Linked DNA regions of Homo sapiens: regions 1, 2 and 3 are each linked to region 4. The links are contacts of gene promoters, found by promoter capture Hi-C in blood cells and fetal thymus (Javierre and others, 2016). All regions are on one chromosome and are shown on one strand. Each heading gives the region's core, a stretch centred on a gene start or on the middle of the fragment in contact. The rest is flanking DNA. Distances are from core to core; before and after follow the strand shown. Region 1 holds the start of FANCL (FA complementation group L). Region 2 has its middle 280 kb from the start of VRK2. Region 3 has its middle 300 kb from the start of VRK2. Region 4 holds the start of BCL11A (BCL11 transcription factor A).

Region 1 (3,001 bases), core at 376-2,875, 2.3 Mb after region 4:
AGCTTGTTAAAACGCAGACTGCTGAGCCCTATTGCCAGTGTTTGGGATTCCCGAGGTTTGAAATAGGGGCCTGTAGGGAATGAGAAACATCTTTCTTTCCTGTTGCTAGATTCCTGTTTGAGTCCCTTATAAGAAAAGACAGATTAATAAGAGAAAAGCGTGCAAATTTATTTAAGTTTTATGTGGCATGGGAGCCTTCAGAGATGAAGCCCAAAGAAACAGGAAAACCTGTGCATTTTTAGAAGGAACAGTGGACAGTTGTGGGGAAGTACGGTTGGACAAAGCATGGTCTAATGGTAATAAACTGGGGTAAGTTGTCAAAGGTCTTTTTGTTCAGATTCTTTTCTATGTCTCCGTTTCTTTAGAGATAAGGATATTTCTTTCCTGTGGGTATAGGAAGAGCACCTCTGGATTGAGGATCCAATGACCCGCCTCAGGGAAGAAGGATGGGAGAAGGTCAGAGAGTGATCTTAGGTTTTGTTGTTTTCTCAAATGTCAAGGGGCCATATTTTGGGGTAGCATATCCTGAACCCCATCAGCGGTGAAAACTTGTATTTCTACATAGTTCCCAGGTGATGCTGTTGCTAGGTTCTAGGATCACGTTTTGAGAACCACTGCTTTAATGTAATTTATATCTAACCACTGCTCCAGCATTCTTTTCTGTAAGCATCCAGAATGCTGTGACAAATTCTTGTCAAACTTTAAGAATCTTCAGGATGTCAAATTCTGTCTTGAGGTCAATAAAGATGGGTAGGGGACGAAATAATCTTTGCTCAACCTTTGGCACATTACAATGATGTTTTTCAAATAGTAGGGCTCAAACGTGATGCATTGGAAAATTGGAAAATTGGAAAATCAAATAATCATATGGTAAATATTTTAGTAGGTTTCTTATTTAATCAACTCTTAATAAGATGGGATGGATAACATTCCTGAGTTAGAAAAACATATTGCAAGCGCTGTCAGAGGAAAATTAAGTTCAAGTCCATCAGCAATCTTTACTCATGTTTTGCTTTATATATTTGTGAGTGCCGTACACAGAACTGAGTCCAGTGTTGACTTGAGTCTAATCAATACACATATACGTATACATGTGTGTGCCTCAAATATATCTGATTGAACTTAGTAAGCCACAGAACTGTAATATATATGATATAATCAATGTGTTATACATTATATTACAATAATTATACACAAAATAATACATTATTCTGTATGTTAAGGGAGAGAGGACAACAGCAAAGAAGACAGAGTGCTACAACGTCCAGGCTGTAAAAGTCATTTTATTCTGGAGGAAATGCAACACCAAAGTTGTAACAGTCTTTCAATAAAGTAAAACAGAATCATCGAAAGGGCTCCTGGGACAATTGAGGCTAGAATGATCTTGGTCAGTCAGTCCTGTGGACTTGAGGGCAATCTTCCCTCCCACTACCGGTTGGGGAGCCCTGATGTCGCCTCCCGCAGAGCGCCACTTGGCCTGGCCTGCGCTTCACCTTCATTTCCGCCCGCGGAATCCTCCAGGATCTTCCCGCCAAGGCTGGGGTTTCCGCTCCGCGGCGTCCGAGCGCCAGCGGACTGCGCATGTGCAGGACCCAGCAGGTCTAGAGCTTTTCTGTGTTTCTCCGGACTTCGAGCCATGGCGGTGACGGAAGCGAGCCTGTTGCGCCAGTGCCCCCTGCTTCTGCCCCAGAACCGGTCGAAAACCGTGTATGAGGGATTCATCTCGGCTCAGGTACCCGCCCAGTGGTTGCTTTCTAGCTAAGAGAGCCTCTTGCAGCGTAGCTGCGCGGAGAAGTCTGTGACGGGCTAGGAGGTTAGGGGCCCAGACTTGTGGGGATTGAGAGGGGCGGCGCGTAACGGCTCTTGGGAGACTAAAGGTTTGAGAAGCGCCGCTGTCGCCGCCACCCCGGTGGTCGCCGCGCTGGATGGGGAGCGAGGAGGCGCGCGGCGTGGAGCGGGGCTGGGGCCACGCCTCCTCTCTCCCTAGCCCTTCCCCGAGTTTGGCTTCCTTCTTCGTTCAGTGTCCCGCAATTGACTGTTTTTTAATTTTTTTTTTGTAAATTTTGCCTTAACTCGATTTTAACACCCTCCACCTCCACGGATGTTGATGAGTTCACTCGGGAATCTGGGCTAATTATTTTCGTGTTTCCTGTAGAAAGAACATTTGGGAAGAAAACCTTATTTTGGCCCTTTGCCAAGTCGTATGTACCTGTACACCCACAGTTACAATATCTTCTAGGAGAAGCATGACAGCAATGGAATTAATTAACTTTGCTGATTCCAGTGGCCTCTCATATGGAGTTTATTACACATACTAACACATGTGTAGGGTTTTGAAGTTTACAAAGCGCTTTCCAGGTAAATAGTTCACTTAATCCTCAGCCCTTTGAGGCAGAAATTTTTAAAAGAATCATCATTCCCATTTTCTAGTTGAAGAAATCAAGGTATGGGAAACCGGAGACGTTATTTGCTGATGATCACATCAGAATCCCTTAAACGCAGGCTGTGTGATTTCAGTCCTGGATTTTTTTCTCTTTACATTGCACCAGGATACCTTAGGTTAGGAGTGTAGACTTTTCCTTTCTGACCATTACACTCAACCTTGTGCCCACTTCCCCACCATCACGCATAGTCTTTGAGTATATGTGGAATTACCATATGACCATCACAGAAAGTAGAGGTTAAAAATTCATTATTCCATATGGAAAAAAGTTAATCCACCTTTCCCTCTCCAATTAGAAGTATTCTTCTTGAATTACCTAGCTGAAAATATGATTCTCTTGTAGACAACATTTAGAAAAGTTGAAAAATTTTAAGTTACTTTTTTTTTTTTTTTTTTACAGGAAGCATGTTATACCTAATTTTAGGCAAAATACTGTTATGTATGTCTATATCTGCTAAGGCCTTTTAGGAAACAAGTACACCCATTAGAATTGAGATTAGATGAAAGTTTCTTTTATGACCATTGCTATAGCTAGAATTCCAATTTGTACCTGCCTTA
Region 2 (2,714 bases), core at 50-2,549, 2.8 Mb after region 4:
GCCTATTTTTGTTTGTTTTTCTTCGTGTTTTTGCTGACAAATAAATTGCAAGGGGAAAAACACAGAAAGGAACCTCTTAACTATTTGCAGTGTATGGATCTTATTTGGATGTTGATATTAACAGTCTGAGGAAGGAAAGGGAAGAAGGAGAAAGAAGGGGTAAAGATGAAGGATTTTTAACACTGTCTAATTTAAAGGCACACAGTGAAATATGTGCAGATGAAATAATGAGTGGATTTGTTTCAAAATAATCTGAGGTTGGTATGGGGAATTCGTAAGGGTACAGATAAAACAAGACTGACCATGAGGTGATAATTGTTGAAGCTGGGTCATGGATGGGTACATAGCAGTTTATTCTAACAGTATTGCTTAAAAACAATGGCCACAGCAACAACCTCAAATGTCCAACAATATGGCTTTGATTAAACAATTTGTGGTATAACCACAAGATAAAATAATATGCAGCCATTAAAATGATATTTATATTATATAGAATGTTTAAAAATACTTAAGCATTCAAAATATTCATAGAACATTAATAAGTGTAAAAAGGTTACAAAACAGGATGTAGTGGATAATCCAATTCAAATGCATAGAAAGGAAATCAAGATTAGTAATAATGGTTTCTGAGTTAGGGAATTAATTACTTTCATTTGTTTTCTTTGTGCTTTTTTGTATATTTTTCAAATTTCTGCAATAAGTACGCATACATTTTATCAGATTTATAATATCATTAAAAATTAGGGAAAGAAAAAATGTGGTTTAGAAAGCTTTTCTCCCTAAATGATGAAAACTTACATTTTATGTGTTCTATAGAAGTAAAGTTTCAACATGTGGACAAAGCATATACTATTTTGTGGTTATGTATTATAAATAATATATTACCATAACTTCGCTGGAAAAGTCAAGGGAAATTAGTTTCATTATTTGTATCTTGTTTAAGAAGAAAATGAAGTGCACTGTGTGTGTGTGTGTGTGTGTGTGTGTGTGTGTGTGTGTGCTGCATGAGAGAGGGTCAAGGAAAAGGAGTCTAACATTTGCAGGATACCTAGATTAAGCTATATATATTACCTTTAGAATTCTCAGTACAGACTTTTGAGGTTGACTTGTATGTCTGCTTTAGAGGTAAGGAAACAGAGACACAGTTTGCAGCATGTAACTGCTGGAGCTGAAAATCAAGCCAAGGGCATTTGGGCTTCCACTAGACCTCCTTGTACCATTTAGCAATCTGACCCTTTTACTAGGGTGTTTATTTCGTCAAAGTATACTGCTAAAACATTTTGCTATTACCATACTATAAAACTAAAAATTATATAATCTATTATTCTGGTACTTGTTATCCAGTTTCCAAAATATTTTCATTAAAATAAAGTTTGAAACTTAAAAATTATTTTACTTAGAAAGAAAGGAATTGGTAAGAGATACCTAAACCTGCTACATTGCCTGCTACAGCGATGGCATCACTTTCCTCTTGACTCTCCCTGCTAGGTGCAGCTTTCAGCACGGTAGAGCACAAGAGATGACATCTGGGGTGGCTAAGGGTCACCTGGCTCTATATTCTTATTCCAGATGAACTCCACAGATCCTTTGATACCACCATTTGGGTTACTTTGTCAGCTAGTTGTTTTTTGTTTTTTACTTCGAGGACTATTTATTAAGAAACGTGTAGTAAAGTCTAGAGTGGAATTCACTAACTGATAAGAAAGATGAGTTAGCTGTTAAAGGGAGGGTCCAGGAAAGGAAGAATGCAACCTAAATAGGTGAGCATTTCAATGAAGAGGTGACTCTTTGGGGTTGGCATGTTCATTTCCTTGCTCCATAAGCTTTTGTTGAACACCTGTTATGTGCCAGGATATCAACTTGGTAAACAGTCTCAAAATAGATCCTTTAATTTTTTTCAAATAAGATGGACTTTAAAACATTTTACATGGATATAGATATAATGGTAAGTGTGGCCCAGATTGGTATTGGTGTGTTGCACCCTTCCACTCTTAAACTCTAGTGCTTATTCATCTGTGAATTGAAAGAGTAAGACCTGAAAACACAGGCACAAAGTAAGCTATTTGGGAAAACAAGGCATAGCCTTTACTCCCTACTTCCAGAGGAACATGCACACACACACGCACATGCACACACACATATTATATGTAATCTTTAAAATATTAATATATTTTAATCTGTACTGTTTTAGAATACATTAAGTATTGAAATCTTGGCACTTCTACCAATGTGCTTCAGAAAGAATCATGATATTCATATAAGAGTGTACTAGCATCATACTGACAGTCCTGTTTGTTTTGTTTCCAAAATGTATTGAGATACTATTTTGATTGTCATGACCCTTAACATAGACTTCCCTTTAATTATAGTCTTTATTCCAATATAAAGGATGCAATCCCTTGACCAATCAATTTATTTATCTCTATTCTAATAATTCTATAAAAATGTGCAAACAGCATCTGTTCACTTCATGGATTTAAAAAATCATGAGTAATCATTCTCAATAATGGGAGAGATTTCTTGTAATTCAAAATTTCAAGAAGTCTCCATTGAGAAATCTGAGTGGTACATCTATTGTATGTGTTTGTAGTTTTTGAAAATTGACCAGCGTGGCCAACATGGTGAAACCCAATCTCCACTAAAAATACAAAAACTAGCTGGATGTGGTGGCACATGCCTGTAGTCCCAGCTACTTGGGAGGCTGAGGCAGCAGA
Region 3 (3,131 bases), core at 608-3,107, 2.8 Mb after region 4:
AATTATTTAATAGTTTTATTAAAATGATAAGTAATTTTAAAATCATCCTGCTGATATTACATCCTTTCCTTTTTAACTGCTACGTTAAAATGACAGTGTCTTTATGTCTCTACATATTTCATTAGCAATGAAATTAACATGAATTTCATTCTAATCTTAATAGCTTGAGTAAAGTATATTTTAATTTTTTTACCTGTAAGTGATGCAACAGGAGAAGTGATGAAACAAAAGATTTTTCTTTATTATAAAAAAATGGTCATTTTTATTAAAATCTCTCTCAGCTATGTGGTAAAAATGAGACTGGAAGTTAGATATTTTATAGCTATGTCTTTTACAGTTTGCAGATAAATGAGTGTACTGTATTTAAACTCATGTAAAAATTGAGTAGAAATGATCTGAAAAGCACAGTAGCTAAAAACAGGGATTTTTTTGTTTTGTTTTTGTTTTGTAGGATGCCAACTGTGTATGGTACTTACGCAAAATTCTAGCGAACGGAAAGAACCAGAAAATAAATATTAATAAATCACATTAAACTATATAAGTCAATGGACTCTTTTATAAAGAAAGCACATTTGTTACACTTATTGATTACAGATAACTTGAATATAGTAACAGAGATATACATGAGCAGATCTGACAAATAAGGTATTTAATGTTCCTTTTCTGATTTCCTGACTTGTAAATATGTTAAGAACTGTGTCTTTAAATATGGCCTGGTGTATTAGATAGGATATAGAATATAAATTTCTTAAAATGTTCTTGACCAAAGATGAAAAAATTTCCAGATTTAATGAGATTTATGTTAAGAACACTGGCCAGTTGTTGCAATGACAATAAATGACACCTGAGTATAAGGTCACCAAAAATATGTCATCATATTTCTTGAGGCAAATTTTAAAGAAATATGCTCTTGTGGTTAGTATGACTGTTGGTGAGACTAAGACTGTCATTGTTCTGGCTGAGTAGGCAAAGTCTGTGTTACGTGTTTTGTTGTATCCAAGGTTCCCAATACAGTGGAGGGCTTTGCTAAATAGCCTTTTCAGGGGATGTGGACTTTAAAAATAAAGGTGAACTGTTTGTTCCTTTCCTGTGAAGTATCAGCTGCACTCTAAAATAATGTAGAGTATCTTTAGATCTTGAACCAAGCCCATTATGTATATTATTTTAAATTCTCTTTCACTATATAATAAATTGAGGAGACTATATTGACACTAACTTGCCATTCATTTAGCTCTCAAAAATGACAGCTTTCACTCCAAAGACTTGTAAGCAGTGTTATTCTGCCTGTCCCATCATTACAAACAAATTAAAATTCAAGATCGAAATATTGTTATCAGTTGAGAAAGCTGCCAGCTCTTTAAGAAGAGCCTATCTTTCATGATAAGGACAGACTAGTACCCTTTGGAGCAAAAAACTGCAGCTATACATTCCTTATTTTGTATGATTTCACTGTTTTCCAGAGGCTCAAGGAAGGTTAGAAATGAAGTTATGGGATTAAAAAAATATTTAATCTAAGTTGTAAAGGAGCTTGGAACCATAACACAAGCATCATAATTAACTTTAATAATTATAAATGTAAATGCAGACAAGCCACAAGGTTTTAATGGTGTGCCACATGCTTCTGCTAATTATTTTAGAGTTTGGACACATTCAGTGCCAGCTAATTATAAACCCTGCTATGGAAATCATCTGTTTATATTAGACTTATTGATCTCTAGTGTTTAAGCAATATGAAAAGGGAAATCTACAATGCTGGACCATCTGCTTTGTATTCCTCATTGCTTTTAAGGAATCAAATATATAAATAGTCAGCTTTTTATATATTGGGCTTCTAACTCTTTCAAGAGACATATAGTACAAACCCAAGTGAATTTTAAAAGCCTATTTGAAATGTTGCTTCCCTGGCTTGTCTCAAATACCCTTCACCCCTTGCCCACATCATATTTTCCTTTGACCTTTCTGCAGATCTCCAAAGCACCTTCTTTTCCCCCAGATCTCACAAACTGGTCAAGGTAACTGAGACTTGAGTTGCTTACCATCTTCTAATTACACCTTTTCTTTTACTTTCTATAAACAAGTCATTTTCCCACCCCCCATTCCCTTATAACCATGAATATTACATCATGAGTGCAGAAGAGGATGGCAAGGAAAGAAATGTCCAGGTGAATGTTTTTCTCTTCTGGGAAATATTTCACTTTAGGACAAATTAAATTTCCTGGTGTGTAGAGTGGATGCCCAGTGGGACCAGAGCAGTGTTACTTCTCAACCCTAACAGGCCTGGCAGGAAAGTCTGCTCTTAGGGTACATCTTGTGATTCTACATGGAGGTTGAGATTAAATGAAGAAAGAGTTGACTTCTTAGAATAAAGTTGTTCACTTCATCCATCACTGCCTACATAGCTATTATTTAAGAGTGTTCAACTCATTGGCCGAAAATATCCACACCCTGGAAAAACTTGCCTGCTTGCTTGCTTTCTCTCTTTCTTTTTCTTTCTTCCTTCCTTCCTTCCTTCCTTCCTTCCTTCCTTCCTTCCTTCCTTCCTTCCTTCCTTCCTTCCTTTCTTTCTTTCTTTCTTTCTTTCTTTCTTTCTCTTTCTTTCTTCTTTCTTTTTTTCTTTCTTTTTTCTTTCTCTTTCTCTCTCTCTTTCTCTCTTTCTCTCTCTCTCTCTTTCTCTCTTTCTTTCTTTTTCTTTTCTTTCTTTTCATGGAGTCTCACTCTGTCACCCAGGTGTTGCATAATGCTCTAAATAAAAGAAGATTTAATTAAAAATGTATCTGCTACCATCACTAATATGCAGTCATGTGTCTTGGGCAATACTTAGGTGGCAAACTCCTCACCCCAGTGTTTGTTAAAATAGCTAGTTGTGTTAGAATGGTTGTGACTTTTCTGCAAAGAATTATCTGTTAGAAATCTGCTCCTCTGAAGTATTTTATCTACCCCTCCGTAAAGGCTATACTCATTCTGTTTTTTTCTAAAGTTTTGAATGGAAGTTCTATTACCTACCACTTAGCCTGGTACTGTTGACTACAAGATATCTGAGTTTTAATCTTGGCACATATATAATTGTAAGGCAGGCCTTCTGTATAGTCTAAGTTCATTTTAATCAGAGTTACAGGTTCCATTCAGTTCCT
Region 4 (2,767 bases), core at 59-2,558:
TGACCCGAGGCGGTCATCTCACCACCGTGGTCTCCCCGCTGCTCCTGCGAGCCTGTCGCTCTCTCTCCATTCCCATTTTCTCTTTCCCTGGGTAACAGCACAGGAACAGTTGTGCTCTGCCCGTAAGAAACATTTTCTTCCCATCCCTCTGTGCTTTTGCAGTTGCTCTGGAGTGGGAGGGGGTGTGTCCCTCCCAGGGACCCGGCTCGGGGACCTCCCGCGGCGCCGTGAGCACATTCCCAGGGACTGGGACTCCCGGGACTGCCCGCGCTTTGTCCTCGGCCTCTCAGAGAGGTGGACGCCTCGGTGCCTCTCTTGCCCAGGCCCCCGGCGCTCCCCTCCGGGGGCCAGACTCTGGCTCCTCGTTCTTTATTCCTCGGGCTCTCTTTCTGCGACCCTTAGGAGCCGGGGACTCGGCGCTTTCAGTTGCATTCAGACCCAGTCGCTTGGCGGGGCGCTCAGATTCCCGGTCCCTGGCTCGGCCTTGGGGGCGCCCTCGGGCCCCGGCCTGCGCCGCCTGCCTCTCCCCGGTCCCCTCTTTCCAGGCCGCGCGGGCTCCTGGAGACTTGGGCGCTGCCCTTCCGGACCCGCAGCCCTCCAAACTTAGGCTGGATTCCGCGTTGCCGTGCGCTCCCTCCCACCTCCCCTCGCCCGCTGCGGAGCTGTAACTTGGAGGCTCAGCTCTCAACTTCGGGTGATTTTTCTTTGCTGTCCTCTCCTCGGGCAAAGTTTCCCGAGCGCAGCCGCGGGCTCGGGGCTTTTACTTCGGCCCCTGGCGTCCACACGCGGGGAGCGAGCGCGGCGGCGGCGGGGAGGGGAAGTGGGTGTGCGTACGGAGGAGGGTGTCCGGGAGCAACTCTACCTGGCTTCCCTCCGCCCGCGCTTCCCCAGCCCGGGGCTGCAGCCTCCCGGTGCACTCTCGCTCTATTTTTTTCTTTTTTGAATAATCTTTCATTTTAGAGTCCGCGTGTGTGGGGGGGAGCAGGGCGCACGTCTTGCTCCCCCCCACCCTTTCCTCCCACCCCTGCCACCCCTTTCTTCTCTCCCGGCCACGCCACCGCCGCGGCGCTCGCTGCGGCCACTGGTGAGCCCGCGGCCCCAGCGCCCCCTCCCCTCGGCCCGCCCCTCCCCCGGGGGCCGCGTCTGGCGTCCGCGGAGCCCCCCGCCCCGCACCTCCCCCTCCCCGCACTGGCCATTGGCTTGTCCTGGTCTCTTTTTCATGTCCAGCCCCTGATGTGTGTCCATTGGTGTGAGCTTCCCCTTCCCTCCTCCCCTTCTCTCCTGCTCGCCCTGCCCATGTTTTGTGTGTCTCTGTCCATCCAGACTCCTGACGTTCAAGTTCGCAGGGACGTCACGTCCGCACTTGAACTTGCAGCTCAGGGGGGCTTTTGCCATTTTTTTCATCTCTCTCTCTCTCTCTCCCTCTATCTCTCTTCTCTCTCTCTCCCTCTTTTTTTTTTTTTTTTTTTTTTTTTTTTTGCTTAAAAAAAAGCCATGACGGCTCTCCCACAATTCATCTTCCCTGCGCCATCTTTGTATTATTTCTAATTTATTTTGGATGTCAAAAGGCACTGATGAAGATATTTTCTCTGGAGTCTCCTTCTTTCTAACCCGGCTCTCCCGATGTGAACCGAGCCGTCGTCCGCCCGCCGCCGCCGCCGCCGCCGCCGCCGCCCGCCCCGCAGCCCACCATGTCTCGCCGCAAGCAAGGCAAACCCCAGCACTTAAGCAAACGGGAATTCTCGCGTAAGTAACCCAATAATAGTAATAATAATTATTAATAATCACGAGAGCGCGCAGGACTAGAAGCAAAAGCGAGGGGGAGAGAGGGGTGTGTGCATGCATTTTTAAATTTTTCACGAGAAAAACCTCCGAGAGTCGAGGTAAAAGAGATAAAGGGGGAAAAAACCCTCATCCCATCTGGAACCATTGCCGTGTATGCACTTTTGAGACAGCACGCACCTTTTAATTTTATTTAATTTTACAAAAATTTGACTCCTCCTCTTTCCTCCTTTCCGCCGCTTTATTTCTCTTTTCGAAAAGGAATGCAATGATTCCACTCCCCCCCCGCCCCGCCAGTTTTGCAAAATAATGAACAATGCTAAGGTTGCGAACAACTCACATGCAAACCTGGGGGTGGGAGCTGGTGGGGAAAGGGAGGTTGCTTCCCACTCACCGTAAGAAAATGGGGGGGTAGGGAGGGAGTGAGTACAAGTCTAAAAAACGATTCCCGGGGAGAAAAGAGGTGAGACTGGCTTTTGGACACCAGCGCGCTCACGGTCAAGTGTGCAGCGGGAGGAAAGTAGTCATCCCCACAATAGTGAGAAAGTGGCACTGTGGAAAGGGGCCCCCGGCGCTCCTGAGTCCGCGGAGTCGGGAGAGGGGCCGCGGCGACGGGGAGAGCCGTGGGACCGGGAAGGACGGGAGACGCGGCCGGCACTGCCGCCTTTTGTTCCGGCCAGAGGTGGGTGTTTGTCCCGCTGCCTTTTGTGCCGGCTCCTCGCGCTTGCCCTCCCGCGCCGCCGCCGCCGCCGCCGCCGAAGGGCAGGAGCTAGGGCCGGGGGAGGAGGCGGCCGGGGGCACGCGGGAGAGGGAGGGAGGGAGCCCGGACTGCTGCCTCCTGGGTTGCCGCTGCCCTCCCCTCCCGACCGAACCTCAGAGGCAGCAAGGAGAAGACTGGCACATAAATAAATAAATACATAAAAATAAAATAAATAAAACAAGGCAAGAGAATGTACAATTTCTTGCCCCCAAACCGAAGCCAAAC

Evidence for each region. Contacts are between HindIII fragments. The CHiCAGO score rates a contact against its expected background, and 5 or more counts as called.
Region 1: a contact is called between the fragment with the promoter of FANCL here and the fragment with the promoter of BCL11A in region 4, in 6 of 17 cell types (total CD8 T cells, erythroblasts, naive CD8 T cells and 3 more). The highest score is 9.3, in total CD8 T cells.
Region 2: a fragment that was not itself captured here is called in contact with the fragment with the promoter of BCL11A in region 4 in 1 of 17 cell types (naive CD8 T cells); the score reaches 5.0 in naive CD8 T cells.
Region 3: a fragment that was not itself captured here is called in contact with the fragment with the promoter of BCL11A in region 4 in 8 of 17 cell types (naive CD8 T cells, activated CD4 T cells, non-activated CD4 T cells and 5 more); the score reaches 19.6 in naive CD8 T cells.

What each region holds. Positions count from the first base shown.
Region 1 is chr2:58,239,949-58,242,949 of GRCh38, reverse strand. It overlaps FANCL (FA complementation group L), which reads left to right and starts at 1,625. Exons shown (of 14, transcript NM_018062.4): 1 at 1,625-1,732. The coding sequence starts at 1,637. RefSeq lists an enhancer at 1,278-1,437 and a silencer at 1,978-2,027. The HindIII fragment of the contact is 7,787 bases long and covers 1-3,001 here.
Region 2 is chr2:57,768,318-57,771,031 of GRCh38, reverse strand. No RefSeq gene overlaps it. Among named protein-coding and RNA genes, the nearest start is that of VRK2, 280 kb to the left of the region's middle. The HindIII fragment of the contact is 1,053 bases long and covers 773-1,825 here.
Region 3 is chr2:57,744,042-57,747,172 of GRCh38, reverse strand. No RefSeq gene overlaps it. Among named protein-coding and RNA genes, the nearest start is that of VRK2, 300 kb to the left of the region's middle. The HindIII fragment of the contact is 9,428 bases long and covers 1-3,131 here.
Region 4 is chr2:60,552,195-60,554,961 of GRCh38, reverse strand. It overlaps BCL11A (BCL11 transcription factor A), which reads left to right and starts at 1,308. Exons shown (of 4, transcript NM_022893.4): 1 at 1,308-1,746. The coding sequence starts at 1,692. RefSeq lists an enhancer at 1-48 and silencers at 739-828, 2,238-2,597. The HindIII fragment of the contact is 6,342 bases long and covers 1-2,767 here.